2 separate regions of the Homo sapiens genome follow, and region 2 is linked to region 1. Evidence: promoter capture Hi-C in 16 types of primary human blood cells and fetal thymus (Javierre and others, 2016). All regions are on one chromosome and are shown on one strand. Each heading gives the region's core, a stretch centred on a gene start or on the middle of the fragment in contact. The rest is flanking DNA. Distances are from core to core; before and after follow the strand shown.

Evidence for each region. The method cuts DNA at HindIII sites, captures the fragments that hold promoters and counts their contacts. A CHiCAGO score of 5 or more calls a contact.
Region 2: a contact is called between a fragment that was not itself captured here and the fragment with the promoter of IRF9 in region 1, in 1 of 17 cell types (activated CD4 T cells). The highest score is 5.3, in activated CD4 T cells.

What each region holds. Positions count from the first base shown.
Region 1 is chr14:24,160,015-24,167,374 of GRCh38, reverse strand. It overlaps IRF9 (interferon regulatory factor 9), which reads right to left and starts at 6,110. Exons shown (of 9, transcript NM_006084.5): 1 at 6,037-6,110; 2 at 5,051-5,231; 3 at 4,226-4,409; 4 at 3,867-3,997; 5 at 3,416-3,497; 6 at 3,241-3,312; 7 at 2,420-2,761; 8 at 1,413-1,528; 9 at 810-1,253. The coding sequence starts at 5,230. The coding sequence ends at 1,179. RNF31 (ring finger protein 31) reads right to left here. Exons shown (of 21, transcript NM_017999.5): 20 at 6,968-7,136; 21 at 6,720-6,855. The coding sequence ends at 6,802. RefSeq lists enhancers at 4,945-5,004, 5,994-6,383. The HindIII fragment of the contact is 4,395 bases long and covers 3,065-7,360 here.
Region 2 is chr14:24,006,967-24,013,591 of GRCh38, reverse strand. It overlaps the pseudogene DHRS4L1. Among named protein-coding and RNA genes, the nearest start is that of DHRS4L2, 21 kb to the right of the region's middle. The HindIII fragment of the contact is 368 bases long and covers 4,740-5,107 here.

The DNA of each region.
Region 1 (7,360 bases), core at 4,861-7,360:
GCCCAGGCTGGAGTACAATAGCACGATCTTGGCTCACTGCAACCTCCGCCTCCCGGGTTCAAGCGATTCTCCTGCCTCAGCCTCCCAAGTAGCTGAGATTACAGGTGCCCGCCACCAGGCCTGGCTAATTTTTGTATTTTTAGAAGAGACGCTGTTTCACCGTGTTGGCCAGGCTGGTCTCGAACTCCTGATCTCAAGTGATCCACCCACCTTGGCCTCCCAAAGTGCTGGGATTATAGGTGTGAGCCACTGCGCCCAGCCGGCCAGAGTGTCTTTTATGGGGCTTAGATAGAGCAAGGAATCCAGTTTGGGAGTACCCTGCTGGGGTGACAGTGAAATTGTGCTGGAGGAAGAGGTGCCAGTAACAGCAGGTACAGTTTCAGCAACTCTTCTCTCTGACTCCTCTGTTCTCAGGTCCCAGGGCCTCTAGACCATAGTTTCAGGTCACCCTCAAGTGTCTCCTCTTCATTTAGACCTCCAATCTAACTAACCTCAGGCCCGATGTTGGGGCCTTCTAGCAAGAACTGTGGAGCCCAGACTTTACCATGTGAAGTTGGTGGCTATAGTGCCTGGCTGAAGGCTTGGTGCCCAACCCACACCCTAATCTTATCTGCCCAGAGGGTACCTCTGTAGAGTGCCAGGCCCAGGACCCACAGGGCCCAGGCAGCATCTTAGCCAGAACCTGTGGGCAGAGGAGAGGAAAGAGGCTGGAGATGTCAGCAGGAAGAGAACCCCAGTGCCCCACTCTTAAGTTTACATCTCTATCTGTGACCACTGCTACCTTCTTCTCCCAGAAAATCAGATACTGATTCCTCTTTCAATAAAATTTTATTTTAAGTCCTTAGTGAATATCTAAGAGGAAAATATAAAGTGCTTGGCTTTAGAGTTGGGAGGTCAGGGAAGAGGGAAAGGCCCCCTGGGTTCACACCATTTGGAATTTCCTAGTCCCTTACAGATGAAAGAGGGCGTATATCTCAAAATTAAAAAAAAAAAAGGATAAAAAATTAGCCTTGAGTTCTCCACCAGCCAGTGTGTGCGAGGATTTTCAGGACACGATTATCACGGACAACTACTGAGAATTATCACAAAGAGGACAGGTCAATCGTGTGAAGAATGAGTCTACTTCAAAGGAGACAGGAAGAACAAAGAGGTGAGGTGGAAGATGGGTCCCCCAGGCTCTACACCAGGGACAGAATGGCTGCCTGCTGCTCTGGAGTCTGCTCCAGCAAGTATCGGGCAAAGGCCTGCTCCATCTGTATTGGAAGAGATGGAGAAGAGCATCTCAGTGCGTGCATCAGGGACAGACACCACCCCCAGGAGCTCCTTCCCCACTGGGAGACCCCCTTTGCCTCCTGGAGCACCACTGTCTCTGCTCTCATTAGATGGGTACTCTACCCCTGCTCCGAGCTCACCTTCACTGTGATAAGATTCTGTGGAGTATGGCTGGAGCCATGGCTCTCTTCCCAGAAATTCAGTGTTACCTGGAACTTCGGTGGGGGGCCCAGGCCCTGAAAGTACCTGACCAAGTCTGAAAGAGAAAGGGTCAAGGGTTCGAAGAACAAAAAGAAGAGAGAGGGCCACAGGCAGGGAGGCAATAGTGAGGAACCCATGATGGAGAGAGGTAGGAGGGGGTCTTGCCAGAGCAGGAGCTGCAAGGTCAGAAGTACTTGGAACTAAGTGCTACTCACCCATGTGCAAATAGGAAAGGGTGCCCCTGCCTCATATAAGTGCTTAGAAGTAGCAGATCACAGCACAGCCCGACAAGCTCTCTGCTGGGAGAGTTTAGAGTCCTCCCAGGTAGCAGCCCTGGCTGCTAACTCAGATGTGCCCAGACCTTTGCTACTTGCTCACATCCTCCCAGTGCTAGGGCACCCATGGCCCTGGGAACACCCACACTCTGCACCCCCTGTACACCTGGTCCCACTCTTAAGGTCAGGTTTAGAATTGAGTAGGAGCTGGAATTGGATGGGAGAGAAGCGCAACCCTAAGGCATGCCTGGAGTGTGGTAAAGACGGTGCAGCCAGGGCCAGTGTGTGTGATGTGTGCCAGCTCTCCCAAATGTGTGTACGTAGGAGAAGGCCATGAGGCTCAAAATCTCTGTGCCAATTCTTCTGTGCACCTTCACATAGTGACTGCATGCTTCAGTGTGATGGTGTTCTCCAAGATATGACACTCTTGTGCTGGGCTCTACCTGAACCACCTCTTCCATTGTCTTGGCTGGAGGAGAGCTGCCAGGTAGCTGCCAGGCTGGGCATATGGCCACACAGGATATGCAACACACAAGCGCAGGAGTGCCATGCATAGGCTACATGGAGGATCTGCTGGCAGATAGGGAGGTAGCAGGACCCAACAAGTTGGGCCCAGGGGGTACTAAGAGGTAGGGGGTGGAAGCTCATGTGCCCAGAGAGAACAGCCTCACCTCTGCAGAAGTAGGCGGTTCTGAAGAGCTCCACGCACTCGTTGCTGGGCAGCAGATGCGGGCCTGGCCCAGGTGGAGCCTGGGGTGCATTCCAGGAGATGGGGATGGGGCAAAGGCGCTGCACGAAGAGGCCTCGGGGGTTGCTGGCCACTAGGATGCCCCTCTCAAGCTGGCTCAGCAGGCGCTGCGTGGGCTCCAGTGGGCCAGGCTTGGGGAACAGCACCTGCTCCATGCTGCTCTCAGAGCCTGAGGGCTCAGCCACAAGGCGGCAATCCAGGCTTTGCACCTGGGCCTCGCCCACCACGCGCCCGTTGTAGATGAAGGTGAGCAGCAGTGAGTAGTCTGGGGATAGAACAGCCCTACCTGGTGCTGGAGGAGCATGCAGGCTGGCAGCAGCCCCTCCCCAGGGGAACAACTCCACCTCCCCTCCCCACACCAGCCAGGGGGCTTCCTCTCAGGTTTTCCTATCACTGAGGCAAGTAGCTAGTATGTGATTCACCATGAGGCCTCAGGGCTCAATGCCCAGGGGCTTGTAGTTTACTAGAAGGTCCCTTGAGATTGGGCCTCTGTTTGGCCCAATGAAATCAATGTCTCAATGTAGATTTCCAGGAGAGTGTATAGGGTGGTATTTTTGGGAAGCAAGCTTTTTGGAGTCTGGCCAGGCATATGGAATTCTCGCCACCTAGAAACCACTGCCTAGGGCTATGGTAATGTGGGTACAGTTTGCTGTAAGCCCTGACTGACTAGATAATGCATGCATAGTCAAAGGTGGAAGACCTCAGGGGCACAGGGCACAGGAGAAAGTCAGAAATGCCACGTACCTGGCTCTGGAGGAAGCAGAAACTCCAGGGACCTCTGATCCCCTTGAAAGGGGGCCTCAGTTGTGTCTGTAACTGGAAGGGAAGCAAAGGCACTGGTCATTCAGAGTGGGACTGGGGAGTCTTGGGCCAGAGGGTGTGGCATGGGGGACGACACAAGAGGCAGGGCAGGTGGTACCTTCCTGTGGCTCAGGGCTGCTGCTGCTGCTGCTGCTCCCAATGTCTGAATGGACTGCTCCCCCACTGGCCCCCTCCTCCTCCTGCGGACACAGTGTCTTTTTATTTTTTTTCTCTTTTTTTGAGACAGAGTTTCACTCTTGTTGCCCAGGCTGGAGTGCAGTGGCGCGATCTCGGCTCACTGCTATCTCCGCCCCCCGGTTCAAGCGATTCTCCTGCCTCGGCCTCCTGAGTAGCTGGGATTACAGGCAGATGCCACAACGCACAGCTAATTTTTGTATTTTTAGTAGAGACGGGTTCTCACCATGTTGGTCGAGGCTGGTTTCGAACTTCTGACCTCACGTGATCTGCCAGCCTCGGCCTCCCAAGACACAGTGTCTTTCATTGGCCCACCTCTCCCTCTGGTTACTGTCCTGCCCTTAGGCCCACCCAGTTCCCTCTCCATCTCTTACATTATTGAGGGAGTCCTGGAGCACAGAGGGACTGAGTGTGCAGTTCTGCATGGCATCCTCTTCCTCCTTCCTCTCAGAGGACACAGAACTGTGCTGTCGCTTTGATGGTACTTTCTGAGTCCCTGGCTGGCCTGTGGAATTGTTGAGGGACAGAGAAAGGTCAGGGTCTTGAGCAAGGACAGAGGGTGAAGGAGAGGTCTGAGGCAGTGAAGGATGGGCAGGTCTAGGAAGGGAAACCTGGGTTGCAGCCCCCCAAGGGCATGGACAGGGCAGAGCTATAAGCCTGGGGGAAGCCTGCACATCTATCCTTCCTCCCCAGTCTGCTGAGTCTAGCAGTGGTTGGACAAGGGGAAACTCACCAGAGACGATTCCTGGTGGCAGCAACTGATACACCTTGTAGGGCTCAGCAACATCCATGCGGCCCCTCTCAGGAACCTCCTTAAATTCAGAACTCTTGTTGAGTGCACAGCGCAGGCGAGTCTTCCAGACAGCTGGACCTCCTGTGTCCCCCTCCTTATACTTTCCCTTAAATATTGCCCAGGCCTAGGAAAGAAAGCAAGGGAAGAAGAGGCAGTGTGTTACAGGCTCCACCTGCCCCTCCAATAGGACTGGCTTTACAGGCGTGCAGCTCTGAGCTCAGAAGGGATTATGCAGGGTCTGTGCTCTGCGTTGCCATCTTGAAATCCTTGGAAATTTTTTTTTTTTTTTTTTGAGACAGAGTCTCACTCTGTCACCAGGCTGGAGTGCAGTGGTGCGATCTCGACTCACTACAACTCCACCTCCCTGGTTCAAGCGATTCTCCTGCCTCAGTCTCCCGAGTAGCTGGGACTACAGGCATGCACCGCTAGGCCCAGCTAAGTTTTGTATTTTTAGTAGAGACAGGGTTTCACCATGTTGGCCAGGCTGGTCTTGATCTCTTGACCTCGTGATCCACCCACCTTGGCCTCCCGAAGTGCTGGGATTACAGGCGTGAGCCACCGTGCCTGGCCAATATCCCTAAAATTTTTGAACAAGGCCTCCACATTTTCATTTTGTACTGGACTCTGCAAATGATGCAGCTAGTTTTCCTCTCCAATCTGTCCCTTATCTGAAACCCAGGCAGACGCAAGTGCTCGAGGATGAGTGTACCAGTGTGTATACACCATCCCACACACAGAGGAACAGTGGTTTCCAGGCCCTTTCACCTTGAAGAAGGCAGCATCCTGGTCCTCCCGGAAGTCCTGCTTGCCTGCATGTTTCCAGGGAATCCGGAACATGGTCTTAGCTGTATCATCCCAGCACACTCCGGGAAACTGCCCACTCTCCACTTGCTCCACCACCCAGTTCCGGAGTTTTCGGGTGCAGCGTGCCCTGCCTGATGCCATCCTGGGGGATAATAGGAGCAGGATGCATCAGAACTGACACTTTGGGAGGGAACATCTCCTGAGACCCTGGCCATTGAGACTAGATTCTGGCAACAGGTCCCAGAGATCCCATCCATCTTCTTTTAGCTCCAAACACATTTCAACACTCTATGGGACAGAATTGTTTCCTTTCTGCCATCACTAGCAGTGACAAACAACAACAACAACAACAAAACCCCCCAAAACATTGTTTTTAGCACTCTAAGCTGTGATACCTGGAAGGAAACCTTGGGCACTGGTCTTAATTTTAGGACTTTTCAGAGATGTATTGTTTACAAAAGAATTCCTTTGGTGATCGTTCCTGGTGACAGGCCCTGTCTAGATTCCCGAGCATCAGCAGAGGTAGGTTCTGCTGAGATCCATCAGGCTCTTCACCCACCGCCCCACAGCCTACACAACCTAGCCTGACCCCCACCCCCTGCCGGCCCCAGGAGTAGGTGGGGCAGGAAGTAGGGGTGGGGTTGGAGCTGCAGCAGAAGTGGGCAGGGCCAGATGGCAAGGAAACAAATGGTCCACTGAGGCTGGGGCCAGGAGCCTTCTTCCTTGAACAATCCAGCAGTAGGTCCTCCTGACCTTTGCCTACAAGGGTCTGGGGAGCTGGCCCTTGTCAGTCTCACTCTCAGGCTGAATCTCCCACTTCCTGACTTAAGAGATCTTCTGTCTATCCCTCAGTCTAACAGAGCGACCCCTAGGACCCCCTGCCCTCAATCTGGCTGGACTTTCTAGCCCTAGATCCCAGGCTGACTCCCATCCTTGGCTGATCTTACCTGAGTTGCTGTCCAGGCTGTCGCAGGGCTCAGACGACCTCAGCTTAACTCCTGGCTGGGCGGCTGATCTCTCCGCCCCTTTCTACAGTCCCCACCCTAAGTTTCAGTTCTCCTCCAGGGAGGGCCTTTTCCCAGAAATCACGTGGTCTGAGTTGCAGGGAACTGGCGGCCACTAGAGGGCAGCAGCATCTGAGCATCTCACTATCAGGATGCCACTGTCGCAGCAGGGGGGCCCTGCCCTGCTGGCTCAGCTCCAGCCTGGCTCATTCCCCTGCCTCCCTCAGATACTCTTGCTTCTATCTGACCTCTGGGTGACACCGTGGCTTCCCCAGGGAGGCCAGTTTCCTGGAGTCAGGCCTGGGACCTCTGGACTGCTGTGTACACCTGTGCATCTGCATTCCCCCACAGTGCCCACCTGATACATATTGGGTGACTTCAAATACCAGTCAAATTCTATGAAAGGAAAAAAGGAGGCAGGGAGGGAGGAAGCCCAGGCCAGGCTGCTGGATGGGGAGGGCCTCCCTTGACCATCCAGGGTGTCAACTCCTTCCTGGTCCTGAGTCCAGGGAGGGTCAGGCACTAGGTTGCAGGGGGCCCTTTTCAGCAAAGCTCTGTTCACCCCGCTCTTTCCCTGGTGCCCCTAGATGGTGGCACCAGGAAGAAGGACCACCAAGAAGCCTGGGTGGTAAGATGCCTCTTTATTGGTGCTGGAGCTGTTCCTGAGGGAGCAGGCCATGGGACCCTCATCGGGACCCTTGCCCTCAGCTACTTCCGCCTGCGGGGGATACTCTGTCCCAAGGGTACCTCTTCTGTCAGCTTCTGCAGAAGGAGAGAGAAGGTAATGATATTGGAAGCCTGGAGCTCAGACACAGTCAGCACCAGGTGACTTCTGTAGGGTGGGTTAAGAGATGAGGCTGGGTGGAGGCTATACCTGTAACAAGCGGGCCTGGTAAGCAGGGGGATCCTCTCCAGCCAAAGGCTGGGGGCGTACGTGCAGGTAGCGCTCAGTGGCCGTCTCCAGCTCTTCCACCTCATACAAGGTGGCTGGGTCCAGCGAGTGGGCATTGATGAGGCTCACAAGATACTCTTTGTAGTGTGCCCTGGGGAGAAAAGGGAGCAGAATATTTGTTGTGTTGGCTAATATTAACTGAGTGTGTCTAACATAGCTGGACTCTGAGACACCTGGACGAACAAGATTAACAACCCACCTGTGCCCACACTGCCTGCTACTATCTACCCATGCCCTTGCCCAGAAAGCCTCCTCCCTCCCACCCACTGCAAGACCTACTGCTCCCAAGGACCCATTTTACTGCCTGGGCATGCC
Region 2 (6,625 bases), core at 3,674-6,173, 150 kb after region 1:
CCTGCCCTTCTTTTAGTTCAATCAGACAAGGCTCTAAAGAGCCATATCCAGACTTTGTGGCAAGGTTGCAAGATGCAGCTCAAAAATCGATTGCAGATGATAACGCCCAAAAAGTTGTTGTAGAAATAATGGGTTATCAAAATGCAAATCCAGGATGTCAATTGGCCATAAAGCCATTAAGAGGAAAGGTTTCAGCAGGAGTTGATGTAATTACAGAATATGTGAAGGCTTGTGATGGGATTGGAGGAACTATGCATAAGGCAATGCTACTGGCTCAAGCAATTACGGGGGTTGCTTTAGGAGGACAAGTTAAAACATTTGGGGGAAAATGTTATAATTGTGGTCAAATCGGTCATCTAAAAAAGAATTGCCCAGTCTTAAATAAACAGAACAAAAATAAACAGCCACCTGGCCTGTGTCCAAAATGTGAAAGAGGAAAACACTGGGCTAAGGAATGTTGTTCTAAATTTGATAAAAATGGGCAACCATTGTCAGGAAACGAGAAGAGGGACCAGCCCCAGGCCCCGCAACAAAGTGGGGCATTCTTGATTCAGCCATTTGTTCCTCAGGGTTTTCAGGGACAACAACCCCCACAGTAAATACCACCATTCCAGGGAATCAGCCAATTACAACAATACAACAGTTATCCCCCACCACAGCAGGCAGCGCAGCAGTAGATTTATGTTCTACTCAAATGGTTTCTTCACTCCCTGGAGTGCTCCCTCAAAAGATTCCTACTGGGGTGTATGGCCTGCTGCCAGAAGGGATGGTAGGCCTTATTTTAGGAAGATCAAGTCTAAATTTAAAGGGAGTCCAAATTCATACTGGGGTAATTGATTCAGATTATAAAGGGGAAATTCAGTTAGTGATCAGCTCTGCTGTTCCCTGGAGTGCCAATCCAGGTGATAGAATTGCTCAATTATTGCTTTTGCCTTATATTAAAATTGGGAATAGCAAAACAGAAAGAACAGGAGGGTTTGGAAGTACCAACCCTGCTGGAAAAGTTGTTTATTGGGCTAGTCAGCTCTCAGAGAATAGACCTGTGTGTACAGTCACTATTCAGGGAAAGCAGTTTGAAGGATTAGTGGCTACTGGGGCTGATGTTTCTATTATTGTCTTAAATCAATGGCCAAAAAATTGTCCTAAACAAAAGCCTGTTACAGGATTTGTTGGTGTGGGCACCGCCTCAGAAGTGTATCAAAGTGCCATGATTTTACATTGTCTAGGCCCTAATAATCAAGAGAGTACAGTTCAGCCTATGATTATTTCTATTCCAATTAACTTATGGGGCCGAGACTTGTTAGAACAGTGGCATGCAGAGATTACTATTCCAGTCTCCCTATACAGCCCCACGAGTCAAAAAATCATGACTAAAATGGGATATCTCTCTGGTAAAGGACTAGGGAAAAATGGAGAAGGCATTAAAGTCCCAATTGAGGCTAAAAAAATCCAAAAAAAAAAAAAAAAAAGAAATAGGGTATCCTTTTTAGGAGTGGCCACTGTAGAGCCTCCAAAACCCATTCCATTAACTGGGAAAACAGAAAAGCCTGTATGGGTAAATCAGTGGCCACTACCAAAGCAAAAACTGGAGGCCTTACACTTAGTGGCAAAGGAACAATTAGAAAAGGGAAACATTGAGCCTTCATTTTCACCTTGGCATTCTCCTGCGTTTGTAATTCAGAAAAAATCAGGCAGATGGTGCATCCTAACTGATTTGAGAGCCATCAATGCAGTAATTCAACCCATGGGGACTCTCCAACTTGGGCTGCTTTCTCCGGCCATGATCCCCAAAGATTGGCCTTTAATTATAATTGAGCTAAAGGATTGCGTTTTTACCATTCCTCTGGCAAAATAGGATTTAAAAAAATTTGCTTTTACTATACCAGCCATAAATAATAAAAAACCAGCCACCAGATTTCAGCGGAAAGTGTTGCCTCAGGGAATGCTTAATAGTCCAACTATTTGTCAGACTTTTGTAGCTCAAGTTCTTCAACCAGTTAGAGACAAGTTTTCAGACTGTTATATTATTCATTATGTTGATGATATTTTGAGTGCTGCAGAAACGAGAGACAAATTAATTGACTGTTACACATTTCTGCAGACAGAGGTTGCAAACGCAGGCCTGACAATAGCATCTGATAACATTCAGACCTCCACTCCTTTTCATTATTTGGGAAAGACCAACAGAGAAAAAAGAGAAACTGGGAAAGAAAGGAAGAGAGAAAGTGAGAAGAGAAATCAGAAAGAGAAAGGAGAGAAAACGGCAGATGTGGAGAGCCAGGGAGAAAAAGAAAAAGAAAAAGAGACTGAGTGTGAAGGAGAGAGGACACGGGATGACAGACAGAGAGAGAGAGAGAGAGAGAGAAAGAGAGGGAGAAAATGAGTAAGAGAGAGACTGGAAAAGACAGAGATCAGAGAAAGACACAGAAGGTGAGACTGGGGAAAAAAATAATGTAAAAGAGAAAGACAGAGATCAGAGAGAGACACAGAAAGTGAGACTGGGAAAAGAAATAGTGTAAAAGGAAGAAAAAGAGAAAAAGAGAGAGAGACCATAAGAGAAGGGAGACAATGAAACAAAAAGTGCGAGTGAGCAGGTGAGGAGAAAGATTGAAAACTATGAGAAACAACAACTAAGAGACAAAGGAGAAGGGAGACTGCCTGGGTGCCGGAGCACCCACACTGTCCTCTTGCCCCCATCACTTGGGTTAAAACCATTGGAAATTCCACTATTGCAAATTTTGTATTAATCCTTGTATGTCTGCCCTCTCTATTGTTAGTCTACAGGTGTATCCAGCAGTTCCAGAAAGACAGTGACCAGCAAAAACAGGCCATGGTGACAATGACAGTTTTGTCAAAAAGAAAAGGGGGATATGTAGGGAAAAGAAAGAGAGATCAGACTGTTACCGTGTCTATGTAGAAAGGGAAGACATAAGAGACTACATTTTGAAAAAGACCTGTACTTTAAATAATTGCTTTTCTGAGATGTTGTTAATTTTTAGCTTTGCCCCAGCCACTTTGACCCAACCACTTTGACCCAACCTGGAGCTCACAAGAACATGTGTTGTATGAAATCAAGGTTTAAGGGATCTAGGACTGTGTAGGACGTGCCTTGTTAACAAAATGTTTACAAGCAGTATACTTGGTAAAAGTCATCGCCATTCTCTAGTCTCAATAAACCAGGGGCACAGTGCACTGCAGAAAGCCGCAGGGACCTCTGCCCTTGAAAGCAGGGTATTGTCCAAGGTTTCTCCCCATGTGATAGTCTGAAATATGGCCTCCTGGGATGAGAAAGACCTGACTGTCCCCCAGCCCGACACCCATAAAGGGTCTGTGCTGCGGTGGGTTAGTAAAAAAGGAAGGCCTCTTGCAGTTGAGATAGAGGAAGGCCACTGTCTCCTGCCTGCTCCTGGGAACTAAAAGTCTCGGTATAAATCCCGATTGTACATTTGTTCAGTTCTGAGATGAGAGAAAAACCGCCCTATGGTGGGAGGCGAGACATGTTTGCAGCAATGCTGCCTCGTTATTCTTTACTCCACCGAGATGTTTGGGTGGAGAGAAACATAAATCTGGCTTACGTGCATGTCCAGTCATAGTACCTTCCCTTGAACTGAATTATTAGATTCTATTGCTCACGTTTGTTGCTGACCTTCTCCTTATTATCACCCTGCCCTCCTACTACATTCCTTTTTACTGAAATAATGACGATAATAATCAATAAAAACTGAGGGAACTCAGAGACCGGTGCCGGTGCAAGTCCTTGGTATGCTGAGCGCCGGTCCCCTGGGCTCACTGTTGTTTCTCTATACTTTGTCTCTGTGTCTTATTTCTCTTTCTCAGTCTCTCGTCCCACCTGACTAGAAATACCCACAGGTGTGGAGGGGCAAGCCACCCCTTCAAACAGTAGCAACCTGCTTGGGTCCCCTTCCACACTGTGGAAGCTTTGTTCTTTCGCTCTTTGCAATAAATCTTGCTGCCCCTCACTCTTTGGGTCCACACGGCCTTTATGAGCTGTAACACTCATCGTGAAGGTCTGCAGCTTCACTCCTGAGGCCAGTGAGGCCACGAACCCAGTGGGAGGAATGAACAACTCCGGATGGGAGGAACGAACAACTCCAGACATGCCGCCTTAAGAGCTGTAACACTCACTGTGAAGGTCCGCAGCTTCACTCCTGAAGCCAGCGAGACCACGAACCCACCAGAAGGAAAAAACTCTGAACGTGTCTGAACATCAGAAGGAACAAACTCCGGACACGCTGCCTTTAAGGACTGTAACACTCACTGCGAGGGTCCGTGGCTTCATTCTTGAAGTCAGTGAGACCAAGAACCCACCAATTCCAGACACACCTTCATTTTGAGCCTATGTGTGTCTTTGCACGTGAGATTGGGTCTCCTGAATACAGCACACCATATGGGTCTTGATTCTTTATCCAATTTGCCAGTCAGTGTCTTTTAATTGGGGCATTTATCCCATTTACATTGAAGGTTAGTATTGTTATATGTGAATTTGATCCTGTCATGACGTTAGCTGGTTATTTTGCCCATTAATTGATGCAGTTTCTTCATAGCATCAATGGTCTTTACAATTTCGTATGTTTTTGCAGTGGCTGGTACTGGTTGTTCCTTTCCATGTTTAGTGCTTCCTTCAGGAGCTCTTATTGTAAGGCAGGCCTGGTGGTGACAAACTCTCTCAGCATCTGCTTGTCTGTAAAGGATTTTATTTCTCCTTCACTTACGAAGCTTAGTTTGGCTGGATATGAAATTCTAGTTCCAAAAATCTTTTCTTTCAGAATGTTGAATATTGGTCCCGACTCTCTTCTGGTTTGTATGGTTTCTGCTGAGAGATCTGCTGTTAGTCTGATGGGCTTCCCTTTGTTGGTAACCCAACCTTTCTCTCTGGCTGCCCTTAACCTTGCTGAATCTGACAATTATGTGTCTTGGGGTTGCTCTTCTCAAGGAGTGTCTTTGTGATGTTCTCTGTATTTCCTGAATTTGAATGTTTCTTTTTTCTTTTCTTGTCTCTAATCTTGTGTTCTCACTTTATTTCATTAATTTTATATTCAATCACTGATATCCTTTCTTCCACTTGATTGAATCAGCTATTGAAGCTTGTGTATCCTTCATGAAGTTCTTGTACTGTGGTTATCAGCTCCATCAGGTCATTTAAGCTCTTCTCTAGATTCTTCATTCTAGTTAGCCATTCGTTTAACATTTTGTCAAGGTTTTTAGCTTCCTTGCAATGGGTTAGAACATGCTCCTTTAGCTGGGTGTAGTTTGTTATTACTGACCTTCTGAAGCTTACGTCTGTCAAGTCATCAAACTTATTCTCCATCCAGTTTTGTTCCCTTGCTGGTGAGGACTTGTATTCCTTTGGAAGAGAAGAGACGTTCTGATTTCTGGAAGTTTCAGCCTTTTTGCTCTGGTTTCTCTCCATCTTTGTGGTTTTATCTACCTTTGGTCTTTGATGTTGGTGACCTATGGATGGGGTTTTAGTGTGGATGTCCTTTCCTGTTCTGATGTTGATGCTGTCCTTTGCTGATGTTGATGCTATTCCTTTCTGTTTGTTAGTTTTCCTTCTAACAGGCCCCTCAGCTGCAGGTCTTTGGGGGTTTGCTGGAAGTCCATTCCAGACCTTATTTTCTTGGGTATCAGTAGAGGAGGCTGCAGAACAGCAAATATTGCTGCCTGATCCTTCTTCTGGAAGCTTTGTTCCACAGGGGCACCCACCTGTATGAGGTGTCTCTCTGCCCCTACTGGGCGGTGTTTTTCAGTCAAGCTACATGGGGGTCAGGGACCCACTTGGGGAGGCAGTCTGTCCGTTATCGGAGCACGAACTCCGTGCTGGGAGAACCACTGCTGTCTTTAGAGATGTCAGGCAAGGACACTGAAGTCTGCAGAAGCTGTCTGCTGCCTTTTGCTCAGATATGCCCTGGCCCCTGAGGTGGAATCTGGAGAGGCAGTAGGCCTTGCTGAGCTGCGGTGGGTTCCGCCCAGTTAGAGCTTCCCTGCAGCTTTGTTTACACTGTGATCATAGAACGCCTACTGAAGCCTTAGCAATGGAGGACTTCCCTCCCCCACGGCCCCGTTAATTGATGCAGTTTCCGCACCCCCCCCACGGCCCTCTCCACCCTACCTGTCAAGCTCCAGCTCCAGCGGAGGATGCTCCAGGGACAGCGATGTCAGGACTGAGATGCAGGGGCTGCCTTAGAGTCTGGATGCATGGGGTAGCGGGGTGTGAGGCACCGGGCCGGGGTGCAGGGCCGGAAGGAACGTGCTGGATCTGGGATGCTACCAGACGGGGCGTCCCAAAGACCGAGGCAGTCCCGTACCTTACAACTCTCAGATGAGCTCCACGGTGGGCTTGGCCACCGTGACCCCTACTGCCGAGGCTGCTGCAGAGGAGCCGCCGCCACCCACACCGCTGTGGAGCAGCCGCACATGCTAGACTCCGCTTCAGTAAAGCCCGGGCGGTGAGTGCCGCCGCAGAGGCGAGCCCGCTCCAGACAGTGGCGGTTGCGTGAGCGCCCCTCCCCCCACCGGGCTTTGGAGCGCGGGCTCCCACGCCGGCCCGGAGAGCTGCCCGACTGAGCATGCGCGTCGCGCTGCCGAGCCTCCTGAGAGCCCGCGG